Linked DNA regions of Homo sapiens: region 1 is linked to region 2. The links are contacts of gene promoters, found by promoter capture Hi-C in blood cells and fetal thymus (Javierre and others, 2016). All regions are on one chromosome and are shown on one strand. Each heading gives the region's core, a stretch centred on a gene start or on the middle of the fragment in contact. The rest is flanking DNA. Distances are from core to core; before and after follow the strand shown. Region 1 overlaps ECHDC2 (enoyl-CoA hydratase domain containing 2). Region 2 holds the start of SLC1A7 (solute carrier family 1 member 7).

Region 1 (6,703 bases), core at 907-3,406, 240 kb after region 2:
ATCCACAGTTTGCATCAGATTTCCTTCTTAAATAGTAAATACACATTACACTTTGAGAAATGGATTCAGCTGTGTTTTTTTTCTTTTCTTTTTAGAGACAGGATCTTGCTCTGTTGCCCAGGCTGGAGTGCAGTGGCACGATCATAGCTCACCACAGCCTTGAAGCCCTGGGCCTGAGCAGTCCTTCCACCTCAGCCTCTGAATAGCTGGGACTACAGGTGCAAGCTACTGACTTGGCTAGAATTTGGCTGTTTTCACTCACAAACATACGTACATACCGTTTTTAACTTTAATAAAAGGTTACTTTATTTATTTATTTATTTATTTATTTATTTATTTTTGAGACAGGGTCTGGCTCTTTTGCCCAGGCTGGAGTGCAGTGGCATGATCACAGCTCACTGGAGCATTGACCTCTCAGGCCCAAGTGATCCTTCCACCTAAGACTACTGAGTAGCTGAGACTACAGGTGCAAGTCACCACGCCCAGCTAATTTTTTATTTTTTGTAGAGATGGGATCTCATGATGATGCCCAGGCTGGTCTCAAACTCTTTGGGCAAGCAATCCTCCTGCCTCAGCCTCTCAAAGCCCTGTGATTACAGGCGTGAGCCACTGCACCTGGCCAAGATTACTTCCTTTATTGGGTAGTTACCTAAATAATAACACATATGGCAAGCAAATCTAAAAGAACAGAGGAGTAAGAAGGGCATAAGGTAAAAATCAAAGGCAAGATGACCAGCTAGTCCTGGTTTACCTGTGACTACCCCAGTTTTAAAAGTGGAAGTCCCATATCCCAGTAACCCTTCAGTCACAAGCAAACCCAAACAGCCCTTCATTTCCCAATCCCTCTCTCTCCCCAGATCATCACTATTGTTTCCATACTCTTCCAGAAATTTCCATTGCATATGGAAGGACGTGTATTATGCACATATGCTTACATATTTAAATAAATTCCTTTTAATGGCTTAGAGGACAAGAAATATCTTTCGAGGCTAATCTGTTTCTAACAAATTTTAAAAACAAAATTTAAATATGCATAGTAAGGAATTCAAACATGGAAGAATATAAAACAAAACCTTCATTTTATATAACAAAACATTTATAAACCTTCGTTTATAAAACAAAACAAAGGTTTGGTTTTGTTTTATAAAGGCACACCAGCATTTTGCCAGTTTTTGCCAAATTGCTCTCCTGTGGCATACTCTTTTACTTTTCTATCAATAATGTATGTAAATACTGGTTTCCCCAGTCTCGGCAGTAGTAGGCATATTGATATTTTAGTATTTGCTGGTCTGAGGTGAAAGGGCACAGTACCTCACTGTTTTGATTTGCCTTTCAAGCGTGTAGCAGCTGCTGGACATCCTTCACGTTCGTACTTCTTTTCCGGTGGACCTTTTACATACTCTTTTGTAAATGGTTTAAAAGTTACTTTATACTAACTTTTTTGTAAATCAAGGAAATTCATCTGTCATAAGCATTGCAATTCTTTTTCCCAGTTTTTTTTTTTTTTGAGACTTTTCCTGAGAAAGTTTTATAAACACTTCAAATAATATGATATAGGAAGTAATTCCTCCTTGCCTGGAAGTGGGGCTGAGACTGGAGTGCTAGGGCTGGTGTGGAACCAAGGCCAGTGACAAAGCAGACACTGTTGCTTCTATGTGGCTGTATTAAAATGCACCCGCCCCTCTGCACTGCCCCACAGACCAGGATTTCAACACAGCCCTGTCGACTTGAAAGCCCAAGTTCCTAACCCTGACTTTGTTTCACTCTGCTGGGGTAAAACCTTACCGCAGAGGCTGGCATTTGCTGAAATGAGGTCGAGGAAGTGGGAAAGGTGGTTGGGAGTCCAATCCAAGTCTCACCAATGATTGGATAAACACAGCCAAGTGCTTCACCTCCCTGCACTGCAATCTCACAGCTGTAAAATCACAGCTGGGTCATCAGTGATGACACCAGCCTAGAAGTGTGGGTAGCACCATTAGATGAGTCTGTGGGGGAGGAAAGCACTTTGTAAACTAGTTATGTTGTGCATGTTGGAAGGATGGGCTGAATAACAAGAAACCCAGGTGTTCAGGGATCAGAGTCTGGCTTCTTTCATGATAGAAAAAGAACCTCAGCTAACAGGTTATAGGACTAACGCTAAAGAAACTGTCAGCAGAATGGCTGGAACCAGACCCAGACATCTGCCTCCCTCCTTTAAAACAAAGCTGTGCACCTCAGACCTGCAACTATCAGCCTTGATGCCCTCCTCAACCAAGACTTTTTGCTTTTCCCTAGGCCCCCATTGCCGTGCGGCTGGGCAAAGTAGCCATTGACCGAGGAACGGAGGTGAGAGGGTTTTGGGTTGGGACTTGGGTCCACTAAAGTTGGTCGCGGCTGGGACACAGTGCTTTCAGAGCTCAGACAGCACAGCTGGGAAAAACTCAGGAAGTGGACTCTTCTAACAGACTTGAACTCTGACCTCGTGCTCTACGTCAGTTTACACATCTGCAAATTGGCCAGACAGTATTATTGTTTACATTCTATCCTCATCTTTCTCCCTTGGAGAGAGGATGAGATTGAGGTTAAGAAAGGGTAAATGATTTGCCCAAGGTCTCAGAGGAAGTGAGTAGAAAGAACCCGGGTCTGTGTGGCTGCCAGTCCATGCTGCAAGATTTGTGCTGGCAGTAATGTGGCCTCAGGGCAGGGCTTGGGGTGATGCCTTGGGTGTGGCTAATCCATCTGTCCACCTCAACTCTCCCATCTAGTTAATCCATCTGTCCACCTCAACTCTCCCATCTAGTCACTCATCACACACTGAATCCAGAACAAAGCTGGGAACTGGGATACAGATGGATGAGTTAAACATGGTCACTGCCCCCGGGAGGGGGCAGATACAGACACAAATCAAGGATAATGGTACCACGCTGACACCCCAGAAAGGTTAGAGCTTTGCGGTCCATTATGATATCCATGTGTGGCTTTTAAATTAAAAGTAAAATGTGGTCAGGCGCGGTGGCTCATGCCTGTAGTCCCAGCACTTTGGGAGGCTGAGGCGGGCGATCACGAGGTCAGGAGATCGAGACCATCCTGGCTAACACAGTGAAACCCCGTCTCTACTAAAAATACAAAAAATTAGCCAGGCGTGGTGGCAGGCACCTGTAGTCCCAGCTACTCAGGAGGCTGAGGCAGGCGAATCGCTTGAACCCAGGAGGCGGAGTTTGCAGTGAGCCGAGATCGCACCACTGCACTCCAGCCTGGGCGACAGAGCGAGACTCCGTCTCAAAATAAATAAATAAATAAATAAAATAAAATGTTCAGTTTCTCCTTCACGCTAATCACAGTTCACGTGCTTGACATTCACATGCGGCTAGTGGCTACCATACTGGGCAGTGCTCGGTTAAAGACTGTTTTCTACAGTTGGACTGTGGGAAGGATAAAAATTCCAGAGGAAAAGTATGGGCAAAGGCACAGAGGAGGATAAGCAAGCAGCTCGTCCAGATGAGAGTGAGGGAAGAAGAGAGAGTGCAAGTTCGAGGCACTAGGCTGTCTGGGTTCAAAGACCTGCTCTTCCACATACTGTTGTGAACTTTGACAAATTATTTCACCTTTCTATGCCTCAGGTTTCTCAGCTGTAGAATAGGGATACTAACCCTTGCTGTGAAAATTAAGTTCACACACACATGGTACTTCTCTTAGAATGAGGCTTTCAAGTGCCAGTCAGTGGGCCCTAGAGGCTGGAGCAATTGCCAGGGCCCAGGTCATAAAGGTTCAGAAATTAACGGGTGACAGGAAGCGTGGTGAGGCAGCCGGATGGGAAGGAGAACTCCTCTTCTCTGGCAAAATGTCTCAGTCTGTCTCGTTTCTCCCAGCAGTTTTGTCATAGTTACGAATGGTGTTTCTTCTCTAGGAGGGAAATTCCTTCTCATAGCTATCTCTGCTCATATAGATGTCTGTAGGCAATAGGGTGGGCTGGCTTCCAGTGTGGGTGAAGATGGACAAGGTCAGACCAATCCAGGGAGCACGTCTTTCTTGCAGGTGGACATTGCATCTGGGATGGCCATTGAAGGGATGTGCTATGCCCAGGTATGTAGCAACCAGCCCATGCCTGCTTGTTAACATAGGCTGGGCCAGGCTAGAGGGACTTTGTATGGTACATGACCAATTTTAGAAGGTTCTTCTCAACACAAACAGTCTGACCGCATCCATCGTCCCTCATAAGTCACCTGGAGTGGCTTGAGGAGAGCCATAGTGCTTCTCTCTGGGACTTTTCCCTCAACCATCTAATGTACTGGGGTTCATCCTGCCCACTTAATGCCGAGAATCACAGAACACAGGTCCTTAAGAGGAAGAACCACATCTTTTGCCTCTGTATCAGATGCCACTGTAAAGTTCAGGATGGAGTTGGGAGGTCAAGGGCTTGGTTGTAGCCTGCAGGCTGTGTTCAATGTAGGGGCTGTACACTTGGGACTGACCTATTAAATCTCTTACTCATGGGTGAGTAAAAAATGCTAATCTCCACGTTAACAGATATCCAAAATACTCCTAAGGGGTCCTGGGACTTGGAGAAACTAGTGTGAACCTGGATTCAAAGCCAGATTTCTTACTGCAAAGAATTTTTTTCTCTACTGAGCAGCCTCATGTCAGACCACTGCAGACGGCAGCTGAGTTCTCAGGAGGCATGAAAGCAGTGTGCAAGTGGAGGCTAATGCTGATGGGGCACAGAGAATACAAAGGCTGGCCTGTCTTCCCCAGGAGACAAAGCAGCCACGGAGGCTTATACCTTTGCATGCCTCAAGATCAGAGTCCAGAGACAATGGAAACACTTGGACCCTGGCCTTGTCTTGGGCTGGACAAGCTTAAGCAACTCTTTTTGGGCCTGTGGCCCTGCTCCCCCAAAACTAATATTTTGTACCTTGTTGCAGAATATTCCAACCCGGGACCGGCTAGAGGGCATGGCAGCCTTCAGGGAGAAGCGGACTCCCAAATTTGTTGGCAAATGACCCCCATTTTAACCTTCAGCATGGGAGATGCATGCCCTGAAGAGCAGGATCCAGAAGGAAGATTTGTGGCCAGATTGCCTTCATCATTTCACCTCTCCAGACTTCCATTTCTTCACAAGGATGATGATGGAAATAAAATGACTGGCGTGATGCCTGGAACCAAGGTGCTGATCCTACCACCTACTGCTACCTTCCTTAGCTTCACCCTGGCTAGAAATAATCACGAGGGTTGGGTTTGCTTTGGAAAATGCCTGTCTCTCTACTTGAATGATAAAGAATTAAATTAGATCTCTCTGAGTCTTGGTATCATTGGCTCTCAGCCCCTGACCTCTCTCAGTTATCAGGCACTCATTAGAGATGTCAGAAGATTTTAAGATACCCCTAGTTTCTTCCTGTGAACAACAGAGGTAATAAATAAACTCTGACATCGGTTGAACATGTGTCAGGGGTCAGACTGCAGATCCCAGTCTCTGCCAGTTACTTGCTGTATAACCGTGGACAAATTGTTTAAATGCTCTGGGCCTCAGCTTCCTCACCTACAAAACAAAACTTGTGAAGATTTAGCAAAATAAAAACACTTCATATTCAATAAATATGTTTTAATTGTTAACTTACAGTGTTTTCGTGAGGACCAAACGAAATCATCACTGTGAAACACTTTTGTAAACTACAGGGTGGCAGAAAATTCTTTTTATTTTTTGAGACAGGGTCTCACTCTGCCACCCAGGCTCCAGGCTAGAGTGCAGTGGCGCCATCTCAGGTCACTGCAGCCTCCACTTCCCAGGCTCAAGTGATCCTCCCACCTCAGCCTCTGGAGTAGCTGGGACTACAGGCAAATGCCACCATGCCCAGCTAATTTTTGTATTTTTTTGTAGAGACAGGATTTCGCCATATCACCCAGGCTGGTCTTGAACTATTGGGCTCAAGCAATCCGCCCGCCTGGGCCTCCCAAAGTGCTGGGATTACAGGTGTATGCCACTACACCTAGCCTCCAGGAGACTCTTTGATAGCATTTAGGAGCACTGAGAAGAAAGGGGCAATTAACTCTAATGGAAAGAAGGGAGGATCCGGAAATGGGCAACTAACATTGGAATTGAAGCCTGAAGGATTAAGGAACATTTCAAGTACAGAAGAGGAAGCTTGACACAGCATGAGCAAAGGTGAGGAAGAGGATGATACACTTAGAAAACCAAGAGCAGGCTGATACATAACCATACTGGTCCCAATACCCCTCCCTCCTCTGGTACCAAGGCTACATCTTAAGCTATGCCTTTGCAGTCATTCTCCAACTGGATCTGAGCGCTGGCTAAGCTGAGCCTCAGCCTGGCCTAGAGTCACTAAACCATGGGCATGGATACAATATAAATAACATTGCGGATTTCTGCAAAATACAAATGTGCTCCCAGGGTTATGCTTGCATCCTGGAAGGAAGAATAACACAGGAGAGCCCAGGCCTTTACAGTCAGCACAAACCACACCAGCTATGACAACCCAGGAAAGTAACCACCTTACTGAACTTCCTTTTTCTCATCTGTTAAGTGAGGAAAATAAAACTCACCTACCCGTGAGGATTGTTGTGAATGACACAGAACTTGAAAGGATGTCTTGTACAGAATTGGACTTAACACACTAGTTCCCCTAACACATCCTCACATTAGAATAAGCTAGCATCTGATAACAATGCTCTGAGGTACTAGAACCCAGGTCAGGAAGATATCCTTTTG
Region 2 (7,049 bases), core at 1,176-3,675:
CAAAACCCTATGATCTAGGTACTGTTGCATTATCCCCATTTTACAGGGAAGTTAAGAAATGTTCCCAAGGTCACACAGCTGGTTGAAGGTAGAGCTGAGGTTTTAACTCTAGCAGTCTGACTTTGAGCTGTCTCAGAGGAAATAACGTGCTTAACTTTTTGTTTCGTCCAGCATTTCCCAAACTTCCTTTTGATGTAATTATGGAAAAATTGTCTTGCACATCTAGTGACATTGTAAAAGGCAGTTGATTCTTTGTCAATGGTGAACTATTATAGGGTTCTGACCCAGGAGACTTGATTTGATTTGCAAATATTCTTAGTAAACTCATTATCAGTCACTTACACTTTAGTGTGAATTAGTCCGTTCTTGGGGTCTCTCCACTTTCTTATAAGCTTCCTGAAGGCAGGGCAGGTACTGTCTGATTCACTGTTGTGTTTCTAGTACCCAGGGGGTGTGGCACACTAAATGGTGCTATAAGAACATTTGCTAGAGTGAGTTGAAATTCTCCTGTTGAAGACCGTAGGAACAGTGGAAAGAATGGCTGTAGTCTGGTAGGCAGGTAGTGGTAGGCTCAGCCTGTGGGAGAGAGGAGTCAGTGGTGGCTATAGGGCACGTCCTGGGAATGGGAGTCATGGAGCTGTGGTAGAAAGCAAGACTCACCTATATCATGGCACAGCTAAAGGCCAGGTCTGGGCTGGGTGTGGTGGCTCATGCCTGCAGTCCCAACACGTTAGGAGGCCAAGATGGGAGGATTGTTTGAGCCCAGGAGTTGATCAAAACCCAAATCCAAATACCTACTTAGCATATTTTCTCTTCTGGGAAGTAACTAACCACCTGATTATTTGGAAAATGAGGCATTTGTTGGAGTTGAAGGTGTAGCAAGAAACTTTTGGTTTTAAGAGTCAAAGTCAGAGGAAAAAAAACTCTCAGACTTGTATTCACCCCCACCCCCCACCCCAAGCTACTGCAAAGAGCAGGGGCTTTGGAAGATTGGTTTGTTGAAATGAAGTTCCTTTGACAAAGGTACCTGGGCCCATTTCTCTCATTCTAAAAAGGACAAGACTGATACCCAGAGACGGCAAGGTCACAGAGCTGATTAAATTGGGATCAGAATCTTCTCAGTCAGGAGCTCTGTCCATGGCTTCAGAGCCTGTGCCCCAGTCCCCTCTCCCCACCTCTCCCCTATGCCCCACTTGGCCCGTCCTCTTCATCCTCTGCCCCTGTCTCCTATGTCAGGAGGAGGAAGCCCCTGTGTGCACCCCACCCTTTACCTCCCACCCTCACTGCAGACTGCACTTCCCATTCCCTGCTGCCTGCTGCCTGACTGCTCCTAATGAGATTACAGATCTCTGGTGAAATAGACGAGGGTTAATTCCCCCAGGCTTTACAGGGCAGGGCAGGCCAGGCCACAAGAAATAGCAAAAAGACACCTATTCTCCAAAGCACTAAGTGTGATAATGACCCTAAGAGTCCGTTCCCCTGTTCAGCACACCAGGGTTCACACTGCGTTTCCAAATACCCTCTGGGTGGAATTTTGTACCAGCCCTAACAAAGTAGATGCTGTTATCATCTCTATTTTACAGATGGAGAAACTGAGGCACAGTGAGATGAAATGCTTGTCTGAGGTCACACAGCTAGTAAGTGGCAGAGCTGGGACCCGAATGTGGGTCTCTTGGGCTCTGTCATCTTTAAAAAATAATAGGCCCAGAGAGCCTGCAGGGTGCCCAGCACCAGGCTTGAAACAGCCCTGAAGCATCTACGTCCCATTTCCCGGTGAGTGGCACAGCCCACCTTTGAACTCAGGTCCCCTGGACTCGAATCTACATTCCCCACAATACTGCCAAGCACCCTTGAACCTATCTGCCTGTTCATGTGGTGGAAACAGACTGGCCTAGCCCTGACTTCTGACCTCTGTGACCATGGCCAAGGGACTGGCTTCTGGGGTCTCAGCCTCCCTTTCTGAAAAATGAAGGTGGGAACCCTGGGATCTTTGGGACAATTCCCTATGATTGGCATAGCTAAGGCAGCCAGCACAGGCCTGGCCCGCAGCACATGCACCCACCCACCTCAGTTTCTTTATCTGTAAAATGGTGATATTAATAGTACTTATTTCTTGGGATTGGTGTTAGGATTAAATATGCCAGTACATGTAACACTCTTCTAGAATGGCACCTGGTGCATAGTAAATGCTTAATTAATGTTGAGGGAAACTGATATCTTACTGTCTTGTTTTTGATTCTTTCTGGAAGGAAGCAGGGGTAAAGATCAAACCAACCAAGCAAATGTTCCTCTTGTTCCTTCCAGTACCTGGTCCACTCAACTGTTTAAGAGGAACGCTTGGCTTTGAGGCCTGAACTCCTAGACCACGTGGTCTGCTCTAATTTCCCAGGCCCTAATCTGCTCCCAGCTCCTAATGATGCAGCTGGTAATAGGATTGTGGCTTCCCTCTAAGGCGGCCACACGGGCATGGCCGTGGGGCTGGCGACTGGTGTTTAGCAACTCCGACCACCTGCCTGCTGAGGGGCTAGAGCCCTCAGCCCAGACCCTGTGCCCCCGGCCGGGCTCTCATGCGTGGAATGGTGCTGTGCCCCTTGCCAGCAGGCCAGGCTCACCATGGTGCCGCATGCCATCTTGGCACGGGGGAGGGACGTGTGCAGGCGGAATGGACTCCTCATCCTGTCTGTGCTGTCTGTCATCGTGGGCTGCCTCCTCGGCTTCTTCTTGAGGACCCGGCGCCTCTCACCACAGGTCAGCCACCCAGAGCATCTCGGGACCCCTGTCCAGGAGGGGCGTGTGGGCCTGAGGGATCTGGGGTCCCGTTCTAGCATCACAGCTCCCTGGTGCCATGACAGTGTGTGAATCCCTCTGCCTCTCTGGGTCCTGGTTTTCTCATCTGTAACATGGGTGTGATAAACACTTTGCAGGACTAGAGGGAAGAACCAGTGATGTGGCTGGGGAGTGATTACAAACCCAGCACCATCAGGTGAGGAGAGGCGAGGGTGCCTCATGATGACAAACACAGGGCCAAGAGCTGTGGCGGGGAAAGAGGGGGGTCTTGTGTGAGTTCAAACAGGCACCAGAGAACACCTCCTAAAGGCTGCTCAAATGACAAGAGATCCAGGAAGCGTGCTCTAGGCAGAGGTGACAGCAGATGCCAGGTGCAGCGGCCGGAGCGCAGAGGCCAGCAGGCCCATAGGTCCCATCGCCACACGTGGGCTTGCGGCAACCATGAGATGCTTTTGGGCAGAAGAGCGACAGGCCAGTTTGGAGCTTGGGAGACCCCTCAGGTGCTGAGTGGAGAGGGGGTGATTCTGGGGCAGGCAGGGGGCCGAGAAGGGGCAGCCTGGGGGAGATGCGGCAGTGCAGACAAAAGGGACAGACGTGAGAACTGTTTTCAAAAGGGGGAGCTTCAGGATGTGGGGGCCGATTGGATGTGGGCTGGGGGACAGGAAGGGGAGCCAGGCCCCGGGTTTCCAGCCTGTGTAACTGCCATGAAGAAGCTGCGTTTCCTGGGAAAGAGCCCCTTTCCCTGTCAGCCCCCATCTCCTACAGGAGAGGGAGGGACATTCCCATGGTGTTAAGGACAAAATCATTCTGCCACTAGTTAAACTGGTAAGGAAGGCTCTATTCAGGACTATTGTGGTAGGGGGGTAGTTATCAAGACCTCCTGGGGAGAGAGATGGGACCCAACCACAAATACAACAAAGATGGCTGGAGATTTATAGCCAGCGAGCAGAGGGAGGGGGTCGGGGACAGAAAATGACTACAGGAGACATCAGGGTAGGGGGATTCTTGTTGAAGGCAGGCCAGGGTGATCAGACATTGATCTGGGATGAGGAATTTGATCCAGTATCAGGATGCTGGAGGGTGAGGGATCCTCACTAAACTGACTTGGCAGGACTTTTGCTACAGCTGGACTATGCAGGCTGAAGACAAGGCCCAAGGACAAAGCCCAGTGGAAAAGAGGGCTCAGAGGAGCCTGTCTAAAGTGTGGTCAAGGAGAGAGGCTTTGTCAATGGGCTCCTGGAAGAGTCCCTATTCCCAGAAAGTCCTCTTCCCGCAGCTCACTAATGTCTAATGCCATCTCTACAACTGGGGTCAGGCATTAGACTTTGTCTTCCATTAAAAGGAAAACACCCACTCCTGGAGAACTGAGCCACGACTATAGTGACCCTGTTAAGCCTCGAGCAGTTATTTAGGAAGAAGCATGGACTCTGGAGGCAGAGAAACCCTGAACTTTGACTCTGCTAGCAAATGGCTAGGCAATATCCTCTCTCCTCCCTGGGCCTCAGTTTCCTTGTCTGTAAAATGGGATGTGGGGCAGTATATGTCTACTAGAATTATTATGAGGAATAAACCAAGGATTCATCAATGCCCAGCATACAGTAGGTGCTTACTACGTGTTACTTCCCCCTCCCTCCCTTATGTACCTGTTAAAGTCCTATCTACATCAGGAACCATCTCATCATCCATAGCTGATGAAAGTAACTGTAACCCCGCTGCTGGCTGCCTGGCTTCAGAGCTGGTTATATGGGTGTCTCTTTCTCCCACCAAGCTGCATATTGCTGAACAACATATGGGTTTGTTTTTTTTTTTAACCAAAACGTGAGCCTAGCCCTGTGTCAGGCACAGAGAGAACGCTCAACTATCTGCTGCATTAAACTGGCAATGGAACAAAAAAATCTGCAATCTGTTCTCTTTAATTTTCCTCAGCAACAAAAATATATCTCCTGCAGGAAGATTATTTTGTGAAAACAAATTGGAATGCCTATTATTAAAAGCCAAACTCATCTGGGGCCTACTTTGCCAAAGCTGCCTTTCCCATCTGTTTGGAAATGCAAATGTATTCCAGTCTGGATTAACCTGCCAGATAAATTGAAGGAAGGATGTAGAGGCTTAGAACAATTATTTGGCAGAAACTGGCTTTCTCAGCATCTTACTTTGAAATCTGGGATTTCTCTGTTTGATCTCTTTGCCTGTGACTCAGAAACTAAACACTTCTTGTTTTGTAAGCTTATGCAACAGGCAAAAATCATAAACAATATGGAAAATGGTAGAATGTTCTATTTGTGAAAAAGAACTTTTATCCTTGATAAAATCACAGGATTTTATCTTGGTGTATGAGTGTCTCATTTAAAAATACTGAGCATTTTGAGACTTCCAGTTAAACCATGGTGAATCACAGGTGTATCCATTTTTTTCCCTCCTTCCTAGAATTCCACTAACATTTTAGTAATGGGATTTTTAAAAGGTAAAACCACCAAGAATAAAGAGAATATAAAAGGAGACAGTTGAGAAAAAGAAATAGAGAGGCTACAACAAATTAGATAATATGGAGGTGGGTGGAGCTGATGACCTCATTCACAGAAAGCTGGAATCTTAGTCTGTGGAAGTTGATACCAAGTCAGTTTGTCTTGCAGACTCCAGAACGTAACAGAGCAAGATGCTGCACTAGGCAGGGTGAGGCTGGGGTTGAAAGCCTGGGCATGGTTTGGAGTTTTGTAACCAGAGCAGTTAGACCCCTAGGGACCTTCCAATTCAGTTGGGGGACTCATCCACCCATCTCCACCCACTGCCTGCCCCAAGGAACCAGAGAAGCTGGACTTGAGGGTATTGGGCCACCCCTGTGTGTGTTGGGGAGAGGGCCATGCTGAGGCACCTACTTCAAACTAATTAACAGACATCCTTGTCTGAGTGGGGTCCCCAGCACGGTTTCAGATCGCTGTCAGCTGAGCTTAGGCACCATGTCATTCCTCAGCCAAAGGCAGGAAGAGACTTCTCTCACTGAGGCCTCAGAGAAAAGATCTCTAAATTCTGCTATAAAGGAGACTCCTCTACCATCCCACCCAGCCCCAGTGAAAAAGCCAGATCAGCACCTGTCACCCTGCCCTGAGGGCCGTCAGTTGACAAACCCTACTCATACATGCAGAAGTTTAGCGCTTCAAACTTACATACGAGCAGAAAGCCACGCCACCAGAAATGTGAGGAGGCTCCTAATGTGAAACAGAGTAAACGAAGAGAAAAGGGGGTCTCTAATGAGAGAAACAAAGAGAAAAGTGGGTCTCTAGTGAAGCAGAGACAAGGCGGGGAGGAGAAGGAAGCTTTGTAAATCTCCTCTTAAGCTTTCTGGAGCTGCGAGTGAAGATATAGTTACCGTACAACAGAGGGGATGTGAAAAGAAGGAACAATCAGAGAACAAGAAAGAATCTGGGGAAATTAAAAATAGAAGAACTAAGATAAAAATGTGAGTAGCTGCCCAACACATAGAAAGGATAAATACTCGAAGTGTTGGAGACCCTGAATACCCTGATTTGAACATTACACAGTGTATTTAACAATATACCAACTGTATCCCATAAATATGTACAAATATTATATATTAATATAAAAACTTTGGCTAGGCCTGGTGGCTCATGCCTGTAATCCTAGCACTTTGGGAGGCCAAGGCGGGTGGATTGCCTGACCCCAGGCATTCAGGGCCAGCCTGGGCAACATGGTGTGAGACCCCATCTCCAAAAAAAAAAAAAAAATTAATGTCAATAACTGGGATAAAGTTGTAGAAATCTCCCAGAAACTAGAACAAAAATAAATGAAAATAGAAAAAGAAAATATAAGAAAATTAGAATGTTCAATGTCCAGCTACCTAATGACACTTTTAGAGACAGCTAACAGAAGAAAAATAGAGGAGAAACAGTTTGCAGAGAATCTAAGCAGTTTCTCAGAAGTGAAAGGCAAGCATAGCACTGTCAATTTTGTTTACAAAAGAAAGAAAACCCCATACTATGGCCCATCACCATGAAATTACCAAAAAGTGGAGATAAACTGATGATCTTTGGATGGTTCTGGTGGAATAAAACCAACCTCATCTAAGGAACAGGAAATCAGAATGGCTTTGAACATCTTAAGCAAACTGGAAGCTAGAAGACAAGGGAGAAACACCTTCTAAACCTGAGGGGAAATTATTTCCAACGAAGTATCTCACACATGGCCAGGCTAATATCAGAGGTAAAGGTAGAATAAAGGCATTTTTACTCATGTAAGGACTCAGA

What was found. The method cuts DNA at HindIII sites, captures the fragments that hold promoters and counts their contacts. A CHiCAGO score of 5 or more calls a contact.
Region 1: a contact is called between a fragment that was not itself captured here and the fragment with the promoter of SLC1A7 in region 2, in 1 of 17 cell types (endothelial precursors). The highest score is 5.2, in endothelial precursors.

Annotation. Positions count from the first base shown.
Region 1 is chr1:52,894,796-52,901,498 of GRCh38, reverse strand. ECHDC2 (enoyl-CoA hydratase domain containing 2) reads left to right here. Exons shown (of 10, transcript NM_001198961.2): 8 at 2,275-2,325; 9 at 4,015-4,062; 10 at 4,902-5,589. The coding sequence ends at 4,979. It overlaps ZYG11A (zyg-11 family member A, cell cycle regulator), which reads right to left. Exons shown (of 14, transcript NM_001004339.3): 14 at 6,501-6,703. Among named protein-coding and RNA genes, the nearest start is that of ECHDC2, 24 kb to the left of the region's middle. The HindIII fragment of the contact is 5,360 bases long and covers 1-4,836 here.
Region 2 is chr1:53,138,014-53,145,062 of GRCh38, reverse strand. It overlaps SLC1A7 (solute carrier family 1 member 7), which reads left to right and starts at 2,425. Exons shown (of 11, transcript NM_006671.6): 1 at 2,425-2,748. The coding sequence starts at 2,614. The HindIII fragment of the contact is 4,621 bases long and covers 395-5,015 here.